7 separate regions of the Homo sapiens genome follow, and all the other regions are linked to region 1. The links are contacts of gene promoters, found by promoter capture Hi-C in human tissues and cell types (Jung and others, 2019). All regions are on one chromosome and are shown on one strand. The core of a region is centred on a gene start or on the middle of the fragment in contact, and the rest is flanking DNA. Distances in the headings are between cores, read along the strand shown. Region 1 holds the start of ZNF7 (zinc finger protein 7). Region 2 has its middle 22 kb from the start of ZNF252P-AS1. Region 3 has its middle 20 kb from the start of C8orf33. Region 4 overlaps ARHGAP39 (Rho GTPase activating protein 39). Region 5 overlaps ARHGAP39 (Rho GTPase activating protein 39). Region 6 holds the start of C8orf33 (chromosome 8 open reading frame 33). Region 7 has its middle 18 kb from the start of ZNF252P-AS1.

Region 1 (2,700 bases), core at 40-2,539:
CCCCCCTCACCTGCAGCAGGCCAGGTTGGGGCATAGGGTTGCCGGCCCCTACCAGCCCTGGGGGTCTGGAGGGCGGCTGGGGAAGCAGACCCCCTGTCCTTCCCTATCCTTCGCGACATGCTCCCTGAGCAGCTGCAGTCCACTTAGATGACCAGAGAGGATGTGGGGCTGAGGGAGCCGAACTCGGGGCAGCAGGGGCGGGGGTGGGAGTGCCGGGATCATCCGCACCGGGAGAGGCGAGGCCGGCGTCTGTTTTTCACCTGGGCCTCCCTGGGGGGCTGGGGGCTGCCTGACTCTTCCCTCCTTTGGTTTGCGCAAGTTTTCCCGCGCGGGTTCGGATCAACACGCCGGGGGAGCCCGGCTTACGTCCCTCCTGGACCCCCGCCCCGTTCTTCCCGTGGGGAGGGGCGCGTCAGGCGGACCTGGCACCCTCCGGCTGCTGGGCTTCGCCGGGAGCCACGCGGGGAGGTCCAGGCAGTCGGGACGCAGGCAGCGTCCTCGCCGAGGCTGCGAGTCCGTGGCCGTCCGGGGGAGGCGCGCAGGCTCTGCCGGACGCAGAAGGAACCCGAAGGAGGCGGGGTGGAGGGCGGTGCGGGGCCGGGGAGGGGCGAGGCGAGTGGCGAGTGGACGCCGGGCCCGGCCTCGGGCAACTCCGAGGGGCGCCCTTCCTCGGGGTCCCGGAGGCTCTGCGACCCCGCGGCCGCTCCAGCCGCTCACTGGGGACAAGGCCCGAGCCAGGCGTCTCCGCGAGGCGGGGTCCATAGCGCGCCCAGCAGGCGCCTCCTGTCGCAGGGACGCGGGGGAGCGGCGCCTGAACAGCCTCGGTGGGAACCAGCGCCCGAAGCTGGTGATCCGGGGTGCGCAGGGCCCAACCGGGCGATCCCCTGGATCTCCGCCAGCCTCGCCCCGACTCCGCTCCTCCCACCCGCCAGCGAGTCCGCAACTCCCGGCCCCGGCCCGCGTCCCCAGCTCCAGGCCCCGGCCCCGCCCCGCCCCTGCTCAGGCACCGCCCACTCCGGGCTCTGGGCCCTCCTCTCCCTCGCGGCTCCGCCCCCTGCCCGCCTCTGACTGTACCCCGCCCCCAGGCGCCAGCCCCGCCTATCTGGGCTTCTGGTCCCGCCCAGGTTCTTGTCCCTCGGGCCCCAGCCTCGCCCCTCCTCGGCTCTGACTCCACCCCTTCTCCGGAGCCTGGGAGGCGGGGCTGAGAACCACAGAGATGGCCGGGCCTCCGAGCGGCCCAGGGCGGCCGGAAGTTTGCGGGGCGGGGCGGACGCGGGTGGCCAAGGCCCGTTTCCGGCGGCGTCGCGCGTTTGCGAGCCTCGGGTGGTCCTCAGGGAGGGTGAGTCGGCGCGGCGGGCGCGGACTCGGGTTGCCCTCGGTCCGAGTGATCCCTGGTCGCTTCCTTAGCCCTCCCGCCTTCGGCATTGGGGTCCCCGCGTCCCCCGGGCCTCCAGGCGGGAAAGCGCGGGGGCTTTGCGGGGCCTTGAGCGCCTGGTGTGGGAGGTGGTCGAGCCCAGCCACCCTCCCCCGCGGCGGCGCGAGGTGGGCTTCGTTTGGCCGAGTCTCGCAGCTCCCCGCAGACCCCGCTCGTGGCGGCCACGGTGTCCGGGGCCTGAGTAAGGCGAGCTCCAGCTGCGGCCTTTTCTTCAGGCCTGGGTCTACTCCCGGGGCCCTGACTCCTCCTGCGAAATCACCTCCTTCTAGAGCCTTTTCTCTTTCTATTTATTGCCCCGGAAGGCCTAGGATAAGTGACAGTGGAGGAAGGAACGGTGCCTTGGGTGGGGTAGGCTGTTTGTCTTCTCTAAATTCTGGTTGCTATTCCGGGCATTCCTACTGTCAGGAGCCAGGTGGGGGGATCAGCCTACCTGTGCCGGTGACCTGGGGCTTCCACCCACAAACCACTTTCTGGGCCAGAAGCTGCCATACGAAGACTCTTTTTCCCATTCCGACCTCCCGGGGGAATGCCTGGGCAGGTAGAGGGTCTGGGGTCATTGGCTTAATTGAGGTGAACGATTTATATCAGATTACATCCCTGTGCCTGGTTCCATCCTGGCGACAGGTGAGCTGGAGACTGGAATTTATGTACTTGAGGGCAGGGGTTTCCATGTCCACTCTTGTCTTCCCTACAGTTTGTCATTTTTGCTCCTGCCTTCTCCAACCTCCAGTCGCTCACTGCCTTCCCCAACCTCCAGTCGCTCACTGCCTTCCCTTGCTGCCGGGAATTTACCCACACTGGTTCATCCAACCCCATTTCTTCTTGCTTCAGGCCCTTTCACATGCTATTCCTGCTGCCTGGAGTGCTCTCTCCACCTCCATTACCTTGGCCGAGGTCCCTGGGGAAGTGACCCATTACACTGAACGTTCTAGTCTAAGTGGCTTTCATAGTTCCCTGTACTTGAGCGCTGTCGTGGTTGCAGTGTGCTTATTTGTGTGGTTATTTAACTCTTTCCTCCGCCAGACTGCTTCGTGAAGGCAGGGTCCTCGTGTCCACTACTGTATCCCCATTACTCAGTGCCTGGCACGTGGCATCCACTTCTTACGGCTTTGTGGAGTGAGTCACACATGCCACACACACATACACTCTAAAGAGGAACAAGAGTTCAGTGGGCCTCCTTCACTCAAGTGCCATGGCTGCTTCAGCCCAGCCCCATGTCCCTGCTAGAGAAATCTGGGGCTGGAGGTAAAGGAGCAGAGAGCACA
Region 2 (2,700 bases), core at 9-2,508, 150 kb after region 1:
AACTGGATGAGGCCTAAAATTGAGTTAAGTATGGCTGGGTGTGGTGGATCACGCTTGTAATCCCAGCACTTTGGGAGGCCAAACCGGGTGGATCACCTGAGGTCAGGAGTTTTAGACCAGCATGGCCAACATGGCAAAACCACATCTCTACTAAAAATACAAAATTTAGCTGGGCATGGTGGCGGGTGCTTCTAATCCCAGCTACTTGGGAGGCTGAGGCAGGAGAATAGCTTGAACTCAGGAGGTGGGGGTTGCAGTAAGTCAAGATTGTGCCACTGCAGTCCAGCCTGGGTGACAGAGCAAGACTCTGTCTCAAAAAATAAAATAAAATAAAATAAAATAATAAAATAAAATAAAATAAAACAAAAAGCTAAGTAATCGCAATAGATTTCTGTGAACTACTCATGGTACTACAGAGGGATTGATTTTGCCATTCAGAGTATGAAAGGAAAAAAGCAAACTTCATAATTTACTCTAGAAACCTACAAACAGTGTCCTAGAAGATAAACATCCTGAATGTAGGGAGAAAAATTTCTGAGGTATCTGAGGAGTTGAGTCCTCAAGGTAGTCTCAGGACTAAAGTCTGACAGATGATTCTATTAGGTGTTATTTTGCTGGGAGGAGACAAAATAAATGTGAACAAAATGAGAAACCATAAGAGAGAGTCATCCATAAGACAAGAACCAACATCTCACACTAAAGTTCATATTGCCATTTCCCTCAGATATCTGGTGATCCTTGGTTGGCGGTGTTTAATTTCTTTCTTTCTTTCTTTTTTTTTTTTTTTGAGACAGAGTTTTTTTGCTCCTGTTGCCCAGGCTGGAGTGCAATGGCACAATCTTGGCTCACCACAACCTCTGCCTCCTGGGTTCAAGTGATCCTCCTGCCTCAGCCTCCTGAGTAGCTGGGATTACAGGCACATGCCACCATGCCCAGCTAATTTTTGTATTTTTAGTAGAGACAGGATTTCACCATGTTGGCCAGGATGGTCTTGATCTCTTGACCTCATGATCTGCCCACCTTGGCCTCCCAAAGTGTTGGGATTACAGGTGTGAGCCACCGTACCCAGCCAATATCAGAATCTTGAAGATAGGTTTGCACTCCCATGTTCACTGCAGCATTATTCACAATAGCCAAGAGGTGGAAACAACCTAGATGTCCATCAACAGATGGATGTATAAAGAAAATCTGGTATATCCATATGATGAAATATTCAGCCATAAAATATTGTAGAAGAAAATCCTGTCCTATGCAACTACACAAATGAACTCTGAGGACATTATGCTAAGTGAAATAAGACATCATAGAAGGATGAATACTGCACAGTTCCACTTAAATGAAGTATCTAAAATAGTCAAACTGATAGAAACAAAAAGTGCAATCGTGGTTGCCAGGGGTTGGTTGCCAGGGGTTGGGGAGAGGGAGAAATGGGGAGTTGCTATTCAGTGGGTACAGGGTTTCAGTCATGCAAGGTTTTGAGAAAGTTCCAGAGACCTGCTCTACAGCATTTTGCTATTGTATTGTATACTTAAAAGTGTTTAAGAATGTAGACTGATCCTCATGTTATATAATTTTACCACAATTTAAGAAATACTTTAATAATGGTGGGAAACTTCTGATATTTCCTGGAAAACATTAAACTGCACATCCAAGAGGCCCAAAGAACTCCAAATGGGATAAACACAAAGATACCAACACTCAGAAACATCATGGTAAAAACGTTAAATGTTAATGACAAGGAGAAAATCTTGAAAGCAAGAGAAAAACAACTTATCATGTACAAGGGTGCCCCAATAAGATAAACAGCAGACTTCTTATCAGAACTAATGGAGGTCAGAAGACAGTGGATAACATATTCAAAGTTCTGAAAGAAAAAGACTCTCAACCAAGAATTTTCTATCCTGGCCAAGTATGTTGGCTCACACCTATAATCCCAGCAATTCAGGAGGCCAAAGTGGATGGATCACCTGAGATCAGGAGTTCGAGACCAGCCTGGCAAACATGGTGAAACCCCACCTCTATTAAAAAAAAAAGCTGGGTATGGTGGTGCATGCCTATAATCCCAGCTACTCAGGAGGCTGAGGCAGGAGAATCACTTGAACCCAGGAGGTGGAGGCTGCAGTGAGCTGAGATCATGCCACTGTACTCCAGCCTGGGCAACAGAGTGAGACTGTCTCTAAAAAAGAAGAAGAAGAAAAAAGAAGTTTCTATCCAGCAAATTATCTTTCAAAAGTGAAGATGAAATAAAAGCATTACCAGATAAATATAAACATAATTTATTGCTGCTAGATGCACCTTAAAAAAAAACCAAAGAAAATTCTTCAGGTTGGAAGCAAGTAAACACAGATAGAAATGAGAACCCACCCAAAACACAAAGAATAAAGATGAAGGTAATTCTTTAATTATATGAAAGTATAAATATATGTTTTTCATCTCTCTTAATTAATTTAAAAAGCAATTTTATAAATCGAATTTATATAGTTATATTGTTTAGGCTTTAAGATGTAAAAATGTATTATATATGACAACAGCACAAAGGAGGTGGATGAGAACAGAGTTGTACTGTACAAAGGAAATGACAGCAGATGGTAACCTGAATGTACAGGAACATATGAAAAAAACCATAAATGGTAAATAAGAAAGTAAACATTAAAAACTTTACCAATATATACTTGCTCTTATTTCTTTTCTGTTTCCACA
Region 3 (2,700 bases), core at 172-2,671, 250 kb after region 1:
TTCTTTTTCCAAGTAGCCCAAATAACACATGGCCAAAAGGCACAATTTTCACAAACCCCTGACTCATGACAAACATATTTATTTTGTACTCTGTAGCTCCTTTCCCAGTTAAGAGAACCACATCGTGTTCCTAACTTGTTACTATTAATGGCTGCACGAGCATCAAATCTTAAAGTTATTTGTTTGGGGCTTCCTTTTTCTACTGTTCTAGTTATTATTTTACTTGTGTCACCTAGGAAAAGGCCAGTTCTTAATCTTATTTCAAAAACGGTGGTTGCAGGGGGCTCAGATGGGTTATAACACACATCGGGTCGGTCATTTCCTGGGCTACATACCTTGTACTGAGTGGCATTATACAAACAAGTTTCTTTTAATGTTCCCATACATTCATAATAACTATAGAACAGAAAGTTTGTTTTAATTTGCTGTCCTACCTCGGTGACCTGATGAATACTCTGGGAACAGTCCCCAGTTTGAGTAAGGTCAATTGAAGCCCTTACTGTGTAAGTCCAAAATTTAAGAAAAATGAATCCCACGATGAGCTTCCTCATGCTTCGGCCGTGCGTGGACCAGTCAGCTTCCGGGTGTGACTGGAGCAGGGCTTGTCGTCTTCTTCAGGGTCACTCTGCAAGGGTTGTCTGGGCTTGGTCTTGCCTCCCAGGTTTCAGACGGTTTCATGGTGTTCTCTTTGAGCTGGAATTATAGTTGACATTTCATTATAATTTATTAGCTGTTCTAGACTTTATGCATTTATGTGACATTTTCTTTGTTGTACTTTAAGTTCTGGGATACATGGGCAGAGCATGCAGGTTTGTTACATAGGTATACACGTGCCATGGTGTTTGCTGCACCCATCAACCCGTCATCTACATTAGGTATTTCTCCTAATGCTATTCCTCCCCCAGCCTCCCACCCCCCGACAGGCCCCAGTGTGTGATGTTCCCCTCCCTGTGTCCATGTGTTCTCTTTGCTCAACTCCCACTTATAAGTGAGAACATGCAGTGTTTGGTTTTCTTTTCTTCTTTTTCTTTCTTTTTTTTTTTTTGAGACAAAATTTCACTCTTGTTGCCCAGGTTGGAGTGCAATGGCATGATCTTGGGTTACCGCAACCTCTGCCTCCCGGGTTCAAGCGACTCTCCTGCCTCAGCCTCCCAAGTAGCTAGGATTACAGGCATGTGCCAACATGCCTGGCTAATTGTGTGTATTTTTAGTAAAGACGGGGTTTCTCCATGTTGGTCAGGCTGGTCTCAAGCTCCCCACCTCAGATGATCTGCCCACCTCGGCCTCCCAAAGTTCTGAGACTACAGGCATGAGCCACTGCTCCTGGTCTGGTTTTCTTTTCTTGTGTTAGTTTGCTGAGAATGATGGTTTCCAGCTTCATCCATGTCCCTGGAAAGGACATAAATTCGTAGTATTCCATGGTGTATATGCGCCACATTTTCTTTATCCAGTTTATCATTGATGGGAATTTGGGTTGGTTCCAAGTCTTTGCTATTGTGAAGAGTGCTGAAATAAACATACAGTGCATGTGTCTTTATAGTATAATAATTTATAATGCTTTGGGTATATACCCCATAATGGGATTTACACTCCTACCAACTAATTTACACTCCTACCAACAGTGTAAAAGCATTCCTATTTCTCCACAGCCTCGTCAGCATCTGTTGTTTCCTGACTTTTTAATAATGGCCATTCTAACTGGTGTGAGATGGTATCTCATTGTGGTTTTGATTTGCATTTATCTAATGACCAGTGATGATGAGCTTTTTTCAATATGTTTTTTGGCCACATAAATGTCTTCTTTTGAGAAGCATCTGTTCTTTTCCTTTGGCCACTTTTTGATGGGGTTGTTTTTTTCTTGTAAATTTGTTTAAGTTCTTTGTAGATTCTGGATATTAGCCCTTTGTCAGACAGATTGCAAAAATTTTCTCCCAGTCTGTAGGTTGTCTGTTCACTCTGATGAGTTTATTTTGCTGTCCAGAAGCTCTTTAGTTTAATTAGATCCCATTTGTCAATTTTGGCTTCTGTTGCCGTTGCTTTTGGTGTTTTAGTCATAAAGTCTTTGCCCATGCCTATGTCCTGAATGGTATTGCCAAGGTTTCTTCCAGGGTTTTTATGGTTTTAGGTCTTATGTTTAAGTCTTTATTCCATCTTGAGTTATTTTTTTTGTATAAGGTGTAAGGAAGATGTCCAGTTTCAGTTTTCTGCATATGGCTAGCCAGTTTTCCCAACATGATTTATTAAATAAGGAATCCTTTCCCATTGCTTGTGTTTGTCAGGTTTGTCAAAGATCAGATGGTTGTATGTGTATGGTCTTATTTCAGAGTTCTGTATTCTGTTTCATTGGTCTATGTGTCTGTTTTTGTACCAGTACCATGCTGTTTTGGTTACTGTAGCCTTATAGTATAGTTTGAAGTTGGGTAGTGTGATGCCTCCAGCTTTGTTCTTTTTGCTTAGAATTGTCTTGGCTATTTGGGCTCTTTTTTGCTTCATGAGAATTGTAAAATAGTTTCTTCTAATTCTGTGAAGAATGTCATTGGTAGTTTAATGGGAATAGCATTGAATTCTTCTATAAATTACTTTGGGCAGTACGGCCATTTTCATGAATTAATTCTTCCCTATCCATGAGCATGGAATGCTTCTCCATTTATTTGTGTCCTATCTGATTTCTCTGGGCAGTGGTTTGTAGTCCTCCTTGAA
Region 4 (2,700 bases), core at 46-2,545, 250 kb before region 1:
AATTAGCTGGGCGTGGTGGCAGGTGCCTGTAGTCCCAGCTACTCGGGAGGCTGAGGCAGGAGAGTGGTGTGAACCCGGGAGGCGGAACTTGCAGTGAGCAGCAATCGTGCCACTGCACTCCAGCCTGGGCGACAGAGCGAGACTCTGTCTCAAAAAAAAAAAAAAAAAAAAAAAAGAAAGTGAAAAAAGGCTCAAAGTCATTAGTCATTAAGGAAATGCAAACCAAAACTACAATGAGACATTTCACAGTGGCTACAATAGCTAAAAGAAATCTAAAAAGGAAAGCAAGTAGTGTTGGCAAGGCCGTGGATAACTTTGAACCCTCATATTTGCTGGTGGGATGTGAAATGTAGGCCCTGGTCCTCTTTGTGCCCGCCTTCTGCACCGCTCGCTCACCCACGCCACGCCCGAGCCTCCGCTGCTCACCCTGCCCTGAATACCGACACCAACACCGTCTTCCCGGTGTGCTCCAGTGGCTCCTCCACACCTGATTTGCCCCACCTCCTGCCCACTCTGCAGCAGGCCCCATCCCTGGCCTCCCTTTCATCCTGCCAGACCGGGTCCACGGGATGAACCTGCTGCCCGCCTCCCTCTGTGCCTGCACCTCGGCACGGTGGGACGGAAGCCTGCTGTCCTCTGAGCTCTGTGGTTCACTCTGAATCCCTCTTCTGAAGCCTCAGATGAGCCCGGCAGTCCAACACGCTCCTTCCCACCTCTGCAGAAAGCCCCTGGGCCTCAGCTCCCCTGGCAACCTCAGCCAAGCACCGAAAATCTGGTACTGGGGGAGACCAATCCCCTGCCTTTCTCTCCCTGGGGTCCAGCCTCTCCTCCATCCTCTCCAGAGTGGCCTCCATCCGCCCCTGCAGTGGCCAGGCCTGTCTGCCCTGGGCCACAGCCTGGGCTCTGGGAAGCCCCAGCCTCCTGTCCCTGCCTCGGCTCTTCCCCACTGTCCTGCTGGCCTGCCGCCTGCCTCAGCCCTTCCCCACTGTCCTGCCCGCCTGCCTCGGCTCTTCCCCACCGTCCTCTCTGGACTCGCTTCCCACGGTGCACTCACCTCGAGGCCCTTGCGCTCTACCCTGACCTCTCCCTGTTTCTGAGGGCAGGGGTCTCCTGGGCTCCCACCAACACAGGCTGTGCTCCTTCGGAGCCACTGTGACTCCAGAGGACCACCTCCAAGCCTGCTCAGACCCCTCAGCTGTGTCCACACTGATCTACACCCTCCACCTGGGTCCCCCTAGGTCCACACACCCCACGCCCGCACGCAAATCCCCACATCTGCATCTCCCATCAGCAGAGAGAGCTGGGCGAGCCCCTCAGACACTGCTCTCAGGAACCACCACCTGCCAGGGGCTGGGCCAGTGAGGGGCAGGGTTGGAGGACCCAGAACCCTCTGAGGCTGAGCGCCAGGCTCTGCTGCCCAGAGAGACAAGAAAGTGCTCACTGGGGACAGCAGCGGTGGCTGCTACAGCCAAGGACGAGGCTCTGGCCACTCGCGGGGACACTGAGTCCCCTGGGTCCCCGCCCACCGCCCTCACCTGGCCCTGCCCACCATACCTGACCTACTCCTCACCTGGCCCCGCCCACCACCGTCACCAGTCCCGCTCTCACGTGGCCCCGCCCATTCCACTCACCTGGCCCCGCCCACCATACCCGACCTACTCCTAACCTGGCCCCGCCCACCACCTTCACCAGTCCCGCTCTCACCTGGCCCCGCCCACCACCCCCTACCTGCCTCACCTGGCCCCGCCCACTCCATTCACCTGGCCCCGCCCATAGCAGCTGCCCCCGCCCTCACCTGCCGCTGTCCTCCTTCACTGTCCCAAACGCCGCGGGCCGCCCGGCCCTCGCTGGCAACTCCTGCGCTTTCTCAGTGTCGGGCTCGGGCTCCAGGGAGGAGCTGGTGCTGCCCTCACGGCTGACGCTGCTGCCGCGCCCGGGGCTGCTCTCCGCCGAGGCGCGCGGGGACTCCGTGTTCTGCTTCAGCGTCTGCAGCTTGGCCAGCGGGATGATGTCGCAGCCCTGCGGCCGGTGCCACACCGTGCGCTGCGTGCTGGCATTGTAGTAGTAGAAGCGGGACGTGTTGGGGTCGAACAGCTCCCACCACTGGTTCTCGCTGGTGCGCTTGATGCGGACGCCGGCCGGCGGGTCCCACACGCACTCACCGGTGACCAGGTTGGCGTACATGCGCTCGCGGGTGCGCGGTTCGATGATCTCCACCCACTCCAACCTGGGGAGAGACAGGGTTAAGGCGGCTGGAGCCACGGCGGCCTGGGCCCGCGCCTCCCACCCCTGCAGACCCCGGCTCCAGCCCCAGCTGCGAAACCCAGAAATCCTGTCATAGAGGAAAGCAAACCCAAGCCCAGTCCGCCCCTGACTGCTGTGCTCCTGAGCACCCGCAACCGGGGAAGCCCCCGGAGCCGCCAGCGCCTCAGGGTGGTGCAGCCCTTTGGGGGGTCCTGGGCCCCACGTGGGGTAGGGACATACTGGCTGTGGTTGCAGGCTCCTGTCCTCACAGGCACCCAGGCCACAACCTCACTGCCCACTGCTCCGTCCTGCAGGATCGTGGCACAGGCCTGCGAGTCATCACTGCACACCTGCTCAGTAGCCCCTCCGCTGCAACTGGACCGCCACCTCCACACTGGGTCGGGGTCTGGAGGGGCCTCAGGCCCAGCTAAGTGCTGCTGGACTCCCAAGCTGTGT
Region 5 (2,700 bases), core at 20-2,519, 190 kb before region 1:
TTTCACTCTGCCACCCTTACCTGGAAGCCAGTATGCTTTTTTTAAAAATTACCTTCGGCACGGGCCAGGAGCGGTGGCTCACGCCTGTAATCCCGACACTTTGGGAGGCCGAGGCAGGTAGATCACTTGAGGTCAGGAGTTTGAGACCAGTCTGACCAACATGGTGAAACTCCACCTCTACTAAAAATACAAAAATTAGCCGGGCATGGTGGTACATGCCTGAGTCCCCGCTACTTGGGAGGCTGAGGCAGGAGAATCACTTGAGCCCGGGAGGTGGAGGTTGCAGTGAGCTGAGATCGCACCACTGCACTCCAGCCTGGGTGACAGAGCGAGATGCTGTCTCAAAAAAAAAAAAAAAAGAAAGAAAGAAAGAAAGAAAGAAAAGAAATATTTTTGAATTAATTTAAATTTCATTTCTATCACAAAAACTATTTCAAAATATAAAAAAAGAACTTCTTAAATCATCATCTGTTAACATTAACCATATTACAGGCACACCGCACAGATGTCTTCCTGGTCAACATTTCTTGGTAGAGCATCTTTTTATTTTTGACAGTTTATAAGTTCACAAACCATATGATTCTTCCAATACGTATTCCTGTCAATGGTTGCCACGGTAAATTTTGTATTTACATCAAGAAACAAAACCAACATTTTAACAAAATGAAGTGCAGGGGAGAAAAAAAAAATCCTCAAGTTGCATTTCAGATACAAGTAGAAGACGCCACAATCACACACGTGGATGTGAGCAGAGCACGTGCTGCGTGGATGATGCTGACACAAACAGGCCTCTCAATGTCACCCTGGGAAAAGCAACAGTGAAAGCTTCACCTCGGCTGTCCAGTGTCAGGAAGCCGCATTTAAAACATTAACATCCTCACACAATAGCCTGTTTCTTGTATAAAGGGTGTTTGTTACACGGATGCTTTGTCTTAGGAAACTGGTTGCACTGACACAATAATTTACTGGCTTTTCCTATTTAACATGAAAAAGACAGCATTTTCATGCAAGACGTCTGGTTTTCAGGAATGGGTTACGGATGCAAGAACTACCCTTGCTCTCTGTAGAATATATTACAGGCGACATGCAGAAAATATGGAAAACCATTTCTGCCAAAAGCCAGATCGAGTAATCTATGCTATTTTAGAAGCTCCATGACACCAGGGATTGGCTAAACACAAACACGTTCAAACAAGCACCCACCTGTTTTTGGACTCTCGCGTGGCTCAGTTGCACACGGGGGACTGACAGGGACAGTTTTCATGGCACATGATGTGGTTTGGCTCTGTGTCCCCACCCAAATCTCATTTTGTAGCTCCCATAATTCCCACATGTTGGGGGAGCGACCTGGTGGGAGATAATTGAATCATAGGGGTGGGTCTTTCCCATGCTGTTTTCGTGATAGTGAATGAGTCTCACGAGATCTGATGGTTTTAAAAATGGGAGTCTCCCTGCACAAGCTCTCCTCTTTGCCTGCTGCCATCCAGGTAAGACGTGACTTGCTCCTCCTTGCCTTGCACCATGATTGTGAGGCCTCCCCAGCCATGTGGAACTGTGTAAGTCCATTAAACCCTTTTTCCTGTATAAATTACCCAGTCTCAGGTATGTTTTTATCAGCAGCTTGAAAACAGACTAATACAGCACACTTACAAAGCAACACTTCAATGTAGATTTAGCAGAAACAACAAAAAATGTCACAACACTGCAGTAAAGAAGTGTTTTCCCGATAAATACCCATTAGGTATTAGATAAGCATCCCATAAAACATTGTTGAAAACGAAGCCGAGTTTTCGATTCACACAGTTGTCTGTTTTAACCTCTCTAAATCCCGATAAATAGCCATTAGGTATTAGATAAGCGTCCCACGAAACATTGTTGAAAACGAAGCCACGTTTTCCGATTCACACAGTTAGTTGTCTGTTTTAACCTCGCTAAATGCTCTGTTCTAGTTGCTTTCATTTCATCAGACCCTAGTACATAGAAATCAACATTGTGAGGGTCCCACTCTTCATCTATATAGACATTACTCTATTTCTTATTTCCTACAATAATAAAATGTACACTCAACTAGATATTTTTATTTCTCATCTGCCTGGGCCCATCCCAGCACCAGTTCTTGCAGAGGTGTTCCAGGAGGTGACATCTGAAAGCTTTCATCCACCATCCACCTGTTCTGCCACAGGATCACGGGGGGAAAGACCACACCGGCTTCTGGTTCTCAGGTTCTAGTCTATGACATCTGGGACCCTGGGGCACCGGTCTCTGGCCCTCAAGGCACCAGAGGACGGGAAAGGAGAGGCAGACGCTATTAAATTCTTTATGGAATGAAAATTAACTCTTTATGTTGTATAACTGGCTGCTACAATCTGTCAAGCAGAAATGAGACAACATGGAGATGCAGACGCAGGCAGATGATGGGCTGGTAAAGCGAAGCTGACCACCAAGACCCCACCATGCTCACATCGAGGAGGAATGCAGTGGCGCCCAGGTGGCCAACTCCCGAGGCAGGAGCTCAGGCAGGGCCCTGGCAGCACCACCTGACCTGTCTCCTGGCATCCCCTCAGCTCTCCTGCGTTCTGCCCATCACTCACCCCAGGACTCCATCCTCCCACACCCCTCAACTTCCAGCTTAGACTCAGCCTCTGTCGGCCTCCGCCAAAAGCAGAGCCTGAGACGAGGATGTGGCTTCATGGGCTCTAT
Region 6 (2,700 bases), core at 31-2,530, 220 kb after region 1:
CCAAAGTGTTGGGATTACAGGCGTGAGTCACCGCGCCCGGCCAATCCGCCGAATTTTGGGAGTAATGTATCACACTGCAGTAAATAACTATCAGTGATGACCAAACTGTAACCCTTCGAGACCTTGCAGACCAGGCAGCTAACACTTCCCACCCCACCGTCTCAGGAAACACCGCTTTCCACTCCTGTGTCCCCGAAAGGAATCATCAGACATCTCGGACTCTTACCTTCTCAAGCAACACAACCCACCCTCCTGGCATAGCCCGTTGCCCCCCTGAAACCCTACTCAGCCTCACCTCAACCCCTACGCAATTCCTCTCGGTTGTCATGCCTCCATCGGCGGGGGTCGAGTGTTGTGTGTGACCCCAGGTCTCTAGCAAGGTATAGTGGGAGGGAAGCATCCAGGGGAAGAGAGGTGGTGGGATGGGGCTCTCCCTCTCCCCCATACCGCCACCCTCCCTCACGTCCATATCCTGTCCAAGGCTCTTCCCGCGTCTGCTTCTGAAACCCCTCCACGTCCCTCCACCCCATGTGCCCCACTCGTTACACAAGAGCAGAGAGATCTGCAGAACATACGTCTACGATTATGCCACTCTTCAGATTTACATCTTGCAGCGACTTCCCACTGCGTTAGAACGGAAGTAAGCCCATGACGGGGGCCCTCCCAACTCTCAGACCTCACCCGAGCCTCCACGTCCCGAGACGCCGGCCTCTCAAACGACCGCGCCCTGACCCTCGCTCTTCCCCATTTCCCAGGGTCTTTGCCGACCACCCTCTTGCGCCGTAGCTGCTCACGTGCTGTTTACTTGCTTTTCCCTCCCCACCAAAAGGTGAGCCTTGAGAAGACACACCCTCGTGGAGAGCTTTGAACTTTTATCCGGAAAGGTGCCGGGCACGTAGTCAGCGCCCGCGATCACTCGCTCACAAGGGTTCTTCCGAGACCCCTCTTCAGCCTCTTCCCCGAACCCCCAGGCCCCGCCCCAGCCCCATCTCAGCTTCGTCCCAGGCGCGTCCCAGCTTCGCCCCGTCCCAGCTTCATCCCACCCCAGCCGCGCCCCGCCCCGCCCGCTCCCCGCCCCGCCCGCGCCCCGCCCGCGCCCCGCCCCGCCCGCGCCCCGCCCGCGCCCCGCCCGCGCCCCGCCCGCGCCCCGCCCGCGCCCCGCCCGCGCCCCGCCCGCGCCCCGCCCGCGCCCCGCCCGCGCCCCGCCCGCGCCCCGCGGAACCTAGAGTCGCAGGCGCGTTCTTGAAGGACGGAATTCGGCGTCGGACTCTGCGCCCCGCGTAGTTCCGGTGGCGACTGCGGCGCATGGCGGTGAGCGGTGTGGAGAAGACGCGCGGGTGGCTGGGCCTTGCATTGTTGGCGGCTCTCGGTGACCCTCGTGCTACCCCCCTTTCTCCAGGCCCTGGGACATCTTGCTGGGGAGGCAGCGGCGGCCCCAGGCCCGGGTACTCCCTGCGCGTCCCGCGGAGCCCGGCTTCCCGGCCCAGTTTCCAGCGCCCGGAATCCTTCCACTGTCTGTCTCTGCCCAGAGCAACCTACGTGCAGTAACGCTGACTCCAGAGCGCACCCGTTGGGCGATGAAGGCGGCACAGCGTCGAAAAAACAAAAGAATAAGAAGAAAACGCGGAACAGGGCCTCTGTGGCAAATGGAGGCGAGAAGGCCTCAGAGAAACTCGCCCCAGAAGAAGTTCCCCTAAGCGCTGAGGCCCAGGCAAGGGCGGGCTTCGGTCGGGAAGGGTGGAATCCACGGGTGCGAATCCACGGGCACGTGTGATCTGGGGTCCGCGGAGTTAAGGCGGGGAGGGGCATGGGATGGGGCCGGCGGCTATGGTTTTCCAGTGCCCTCTCACAGCCACTTCCCCAAATCCATCACAGGCACAACAGTTGGCCCAGGAATTGGCTTGGTGTGTGGAGCAACTGGAGCTGGGCCTCAAGAGGCAGAAACCCACCCCGAAACAGAGTAAGGGACCCTTCTGTAGAGCTGGGGGATGTGAACAGTGGCACTGCCTGGCCTGCAGGTGCTGGCAGAGTATGGAGTTGTTGGCTTTGCGGCGGGGTGGTAGGAGGTCAGTAATAGAGGTGTTCACTAGTCCTTTATTTTTATTCGCAGAAGAGCAGGCTATTGGAGCAATCCGAACCCTGCGCAGCAAAAGAACGCCCTTGCCCCGGAAGAGGCAGCTGATGCACTCCTTGTTTGGAGACTATAGGGCTCAGATGGAAGCCGAATGGCGTGAGGCCCTGCGGGCTCTCAGAGCTGGTGAGGAGCTAGCCACTGGTTGATTCAGGAAGGCCTAACTTAAGGAGGAAGTGTCTAGGGGGTGAAAGGAAGAAGGCCCAGAGCAACAAGCCTGGTGGGGGAAGGAGATGGGCTCAGGGAAGCCTGAGGGAGCAGGGAAACAGAAAGCGTGGACCTCTCTTTCCTCTTCCTAGGACTGAACCTGGGAAGCAGCGGGGAGGCCCTGGGAGGAGTGGGAAAGAGCATGGTCCTATGTTGGTCCTGCTCCTGGGTTGGGGAAAGCTGCCTCATGTCTTTGTGTCTTGGCTTTCTCTACTAGCAATGAAGCCATATCCCATAACAGTTTGAGTGCAATTCCTGGGGCCAGATCAGCTAGGTTCAAATCCTGGATCTACCACATAGTAGTACTAACACCTTTTGCAAACTACTGAACCTCTCTAAGTGGGGGATGATAGTAATATCAA
Region 7 (2,700 bases), core at 78-2,577, 190 kb after region 1:
TTTGTTAGTTTTCCTTCTAATAGTCAGAACCCTCAGCTGCAGGTCTGTTGGAGTTTGCTGGAGGTCCACTCTAGATCCTGTTTGCCTGGATATGACCAGTAGAGGCTACAGAATAGCGAATATTGCAGAATAGCAAATGTTGCTGCCTGATCATTCCTCTGGAAGCTTCATCTCAGAGGGGTACCCGGCCGTGTGAGGTATCAGTCAGCCCCTACTGGGAGGTGCCTCCCAGTTAGGGTACTCAGGTGTCAGGGAGCCACTTGAGGAGGCAGTCTGTTTGTTCTCAGATCTCAAACTCCATGCTGGGAGAACCACTACTCTCTTCAAAGCTGTCAGACAGGGACATTTAAGTCTGCAGAAGATTCTGCTGCCTTTTGTTCAGCTATGCCCTGCACCCAGAGGTGGAGTCTGCAGAGGCTGGTAGGCCTCCTTGAGCTGCAGTGGGCTCCATCCAGTTCAAGCTTCCCAGCCGCTTTGTTTACCTACTGAAGTCTCAGCAATGGTGGGCGCCCCTCCCCCAGCCTTGCTGCCACCTTGCAGTTCGATCTCAGACTGCTGTGCTAGCAATGAGCAAGGCTCCATGGGTGTGGGACCCTCCAAGCCAGGTGTAGGAAATAATCTCCTGGTGTGCCATTTGCTAAGACCATTGGAACAGCACAGTATTAGGGTGGGAGTGACCCGATTTTCCAGGTGCCATCTGTCACAGCTTCCCTTGGCTAGGAAAGGGAATTCCCTGACCCCTTGCACTTCCCAGGTGAGGTGGTGCCTTGCCCTGCTTCAGGTCTCACTCGGTGGGCTGCACCCACTGTCCTGCACCCACTGTCTGACAAGCTCCAGTGAGATGAACCTGGTATTTCAGTTGGAAATGCAGAAATCACCTGTCTTCTGCATCGCTCATGCTGGGAGCTCTAGACTGGAACTGTTCCTATTTGGCCATCTTGGAACCTCCCATGTAGGTTACCATTTTTAGGGGTGGTCACTGTTGAGCCTCCAAGTCCTATTCCCTTAAAATGGAAGACCCAAAATCCTGTTTGGGTTGAGCTGTGGCCACTTACTCAGGAAAAATTGGGGGCCTTACAGGAATTAGTCAAAGAGCAATTAAACAAAGGAAGCATTGAGCCCACATTTTCTCCATAGAATTTGCCGGTGTTTGTAATAAAGAAAAAATCCAGCAGATGGCGCATGCTAACCGACTTACGTGTGGTGAACACATTCATTCAGCTGATTGGGGCCCTGCAGCTGGGGCTTCTATCCCCCACCATGATTCCTAGAGACTGGCCATTAGTAATTATAGATTTGAAGGATTGCTTTTTAAATATTCTTCTAGCAGAGTCTGATTTTGTGAAATTTGCTTTTACTATTCCTGCTATGAACAACAAGGAACCAGCAGCCAGATATCATTGGAAAGTCCTGCTGCAGGATATGTTGAATAGTCCTACTATTTGTCAAACTTTTGTGGGGAAGGCTATTCCACCTGTGAGAGATCAGTTTCCTGATTCATATATCATTCATTTTATGGATGACATATTGGGTACGGTCAAAAGTTAAGACTGACTTATCCAGTGTTATTCATATTTACAGGAGGTGGTAGCCAATGCTGGATTGCTCATAGCACCAGATAAAATTCAAACATCCACTCCTTTCCAATATTTGGGAATGCAGGATCAGGAAAGGGCAATTAGACCCCAAGAGGTTCAAATTCAAAAAGACTCTCTGAAAACTTTAAATGATTTTCAAAAATTATTAGGGGATATCAATTGGATTTGACCTCCTTTGGGAATCCCTACCTATGCTATGTCTAATCTGTTCTCTATTTTAAGAGGTGACCCTGCTCTCAATAGTAAATGAGAACTGACTCCTGAGACTGCCAAAGAATTACAAATGATTGAAGAAAAAATACAACAGGCCCAGGTTAATAGAATAGACTCAAATTTACCATTACAGTTCATTGTGTTCCCTACTCTCCATTCTTCTACAGGGGTTACAGTTCAGAGTGAGGACTTAGTTGAATGGTCTTTTCTGCCTCACAATACTGTTAGAACACTCACAGTATACTTGGATCAGATGGCAATCTTGATTGGGCAAGCTCACCTTAGAGTTGTTAAACTTTGTGGCTCAGATCCAGATAAGATTATAGTTCCAATGAATAAAAATCAGATTTGGAAAGCCTTTGTTAATTCAGTCAATTGGCAAATAGATTTAGCTGGCTTCATTGGAGTTCTTGATAATCTGAAGGGGTGGCCTGCCCCTCCACACCTGTGGGTATTTCTAGTCAGGTGGGATGGGAGACTGAGAAAAGAAATAAGACACAGTGACAAAGTATAGAGAAACAACAGTGGGCCCAGGAGAGCGGCACTCGGCACACCAAGGACCTGCACCGGCACCGGTCTCTGAGTTCCCTCAGTTTTTATTGATTATTATTTTCATGATTTCAGCAGAAAGGAATGTAGTAGGAGAGCAGGGTGATAATAAGGAGAAGGTCAGCAAAAAGCATGTGAGCAAAGGAATCTATGTCATAATTAAGTTCAAGGGAAAGTACTATGCCTGGATGTGCACATAGGCCAGATTTATGTTTCTCTCCACCCAAACATCTCAGTGGAGTAAAGAATAACAAGGCAGCATTGCTGCCAACATGTCTCACCTCCCACCATAGGGCGGTTTTTCTCCTATCTCAGAATTGAACAAATGTACAATCGGGTT

The links. The method cuts DNA at HindIII sites, captures the fragments that hold promoters and counts their contacts. A contact is called where the count stands out against the background at its distance.
Region 2: a fragment that was not itself captured here is called in contact with the fragment with the promoter of ZNF7 in region 1 in 6 of the 25 tissues and cell types used here (H1 embryonic stem cells, IMR-90 fibroblasts, dorsolateral prefrontal cortex and 3 more).
Region 3: a contact is called between a fragment that was not itself captured here and the fragment with the promoter of ZNF7 in region 1, in 3 of the 25 tissues and cell types used here (mesenchymal stem cells, mesendoderm cells and spleen).
Region 4: a fragment that was not itself captured here is called in contact with the fragment with the promoter of ZNF7 in region 1 in 3 of the 25 tissues and cell types used here (dorsolateral prefrontal cortex, mesenchymal stem cells and spleen).
Region 5: a fragment that was not itself captured here is called in contact with the fragment with the promoter of ZNF7 in region 1 in 2 of the 25 tissues and cell types used here (dorsolateral prefrontal cortex and spleen).
Region 6: the fragment with the promoter of C8orf33 here is called in contact with the fragment with the promoter of ZNF7 in region 1 in 4 of the 25 tissues and cell types used here (dorsolateral prefrontal cortex, heart right ventricle, lymphoblastoid cells and 1 more).
Region 7: a contact is called between a fragment that was not itself captured here and the fragment with the promoter of ZNF7 in region 1, in 8 of the 25 tissues and cell types used here (H1 embryonic stem cells, dorsolateral prefrontal cortex, lymphoblastoid cells and 5 more).

What each region holds. Positions count from the first base shown.
Region 1 is chr8:144,826,271-144,828,970 of GRCh38, forward strand. It overlaps ZNF7 (zinc finger protein 7), which reads left to right and starts at 1,290. Exons shown (of 5, transcript NM_003416.4): 1 at 1,290-1,339. LOC100130027 (a long non-coding RNA gene) reads right to left here and starts at 770. Exons shown (of 5, transcript NR_147501.1): 1 at 1-770. RefSeq lists a silencer at 481-1,610 and enhancers at 942-1,467, 1,468-1,993, 1,994-2,519. The HindIII fragment of the contact is 13,991 bases long and covers 1-2,700 here.
Region 2 is chr8:144,979,510-144,982,209 of GRCh38, forward strand. It overlaps the pseudogene ZNF252P. Among named protein-coding and RNA genes, the nearest start is that of ZNF252P-AS1, 22 kb to the right of the region's middle. The HindIII fragment of the contact is 4,345 bases long and covers 1-2,700 here.
Region 3 is chr8:145,071,360-145,074,059 of GRCh38, forward strand. No RefSeq gene overlaps it. Among named protein-coding and RNA genes, the nearest start is that of C8orf33, 20 kb to the left of the region's middle. The HindIII fragment of the contact is 6,005 bases long and covers 1-2,700 here.
Region 4 is chr8:144,579,051-144,581,750 of GRCh38, forward strand. It overlaps ARHGAP39 (Rho GTPase activating protein 39), which reads right to left. Exons shown (of 12, transcript NM_025251.3): 3 at 1,796-2,227. Among named protein-coding and RNA genes, the nearest start is that of C8orf82, 51 kb to the left of the region's middle. The HindIII fragment of the contact is 7,795 bases long and covers 1-2,700 here.
Region 5 is chr8:144,638,983-144,641,682 of GRCh38, forward strand. All of the region lies in intron 1 of ARHGAP39 (Rho GTPase activating protein 39), which reads right to left. Among named protein-coding and RNA genes, the nearest start is that of ARHGAP39, 46 kb to the right of the region's middle. The HindIII fragment of the contact is 3,705 bases long and covers 1-2,700 here.
Region 6 is chr8:145,051,187-145,053,886 of GRCh38, forward strand. It overlaps C8orf33 (chromosome 8 open reading frame 33), which reads left to right and starts at 1,281. Exons shown (of 5, transcript NM_023080.3): 1 at 1,281-1,311; 2 at 1,400-1,711; 3 at 1,876-1,960; 4 at 2,111-2,257. The coding sequence starts at 1,306. RefSeq lists enhancers at 707-836, 877-926, 1,855-2,655 and a silencer at 1,137-1,206. The HindIII fragment of the contact is 15,142 bases long and covers 1-2,700 here.
Region 7 is chr8:145,019,014-145,021,713 of GRCh38, forward strand. No RefSeq gene overlaps it. Among named protein-coding and RNA genes, the nearest start is that of ZNF252P-AS1, 18 kb to the left of the region's middle. The HindIII fragment of the contact is 6,395 bases long and covers 1-2,700 here.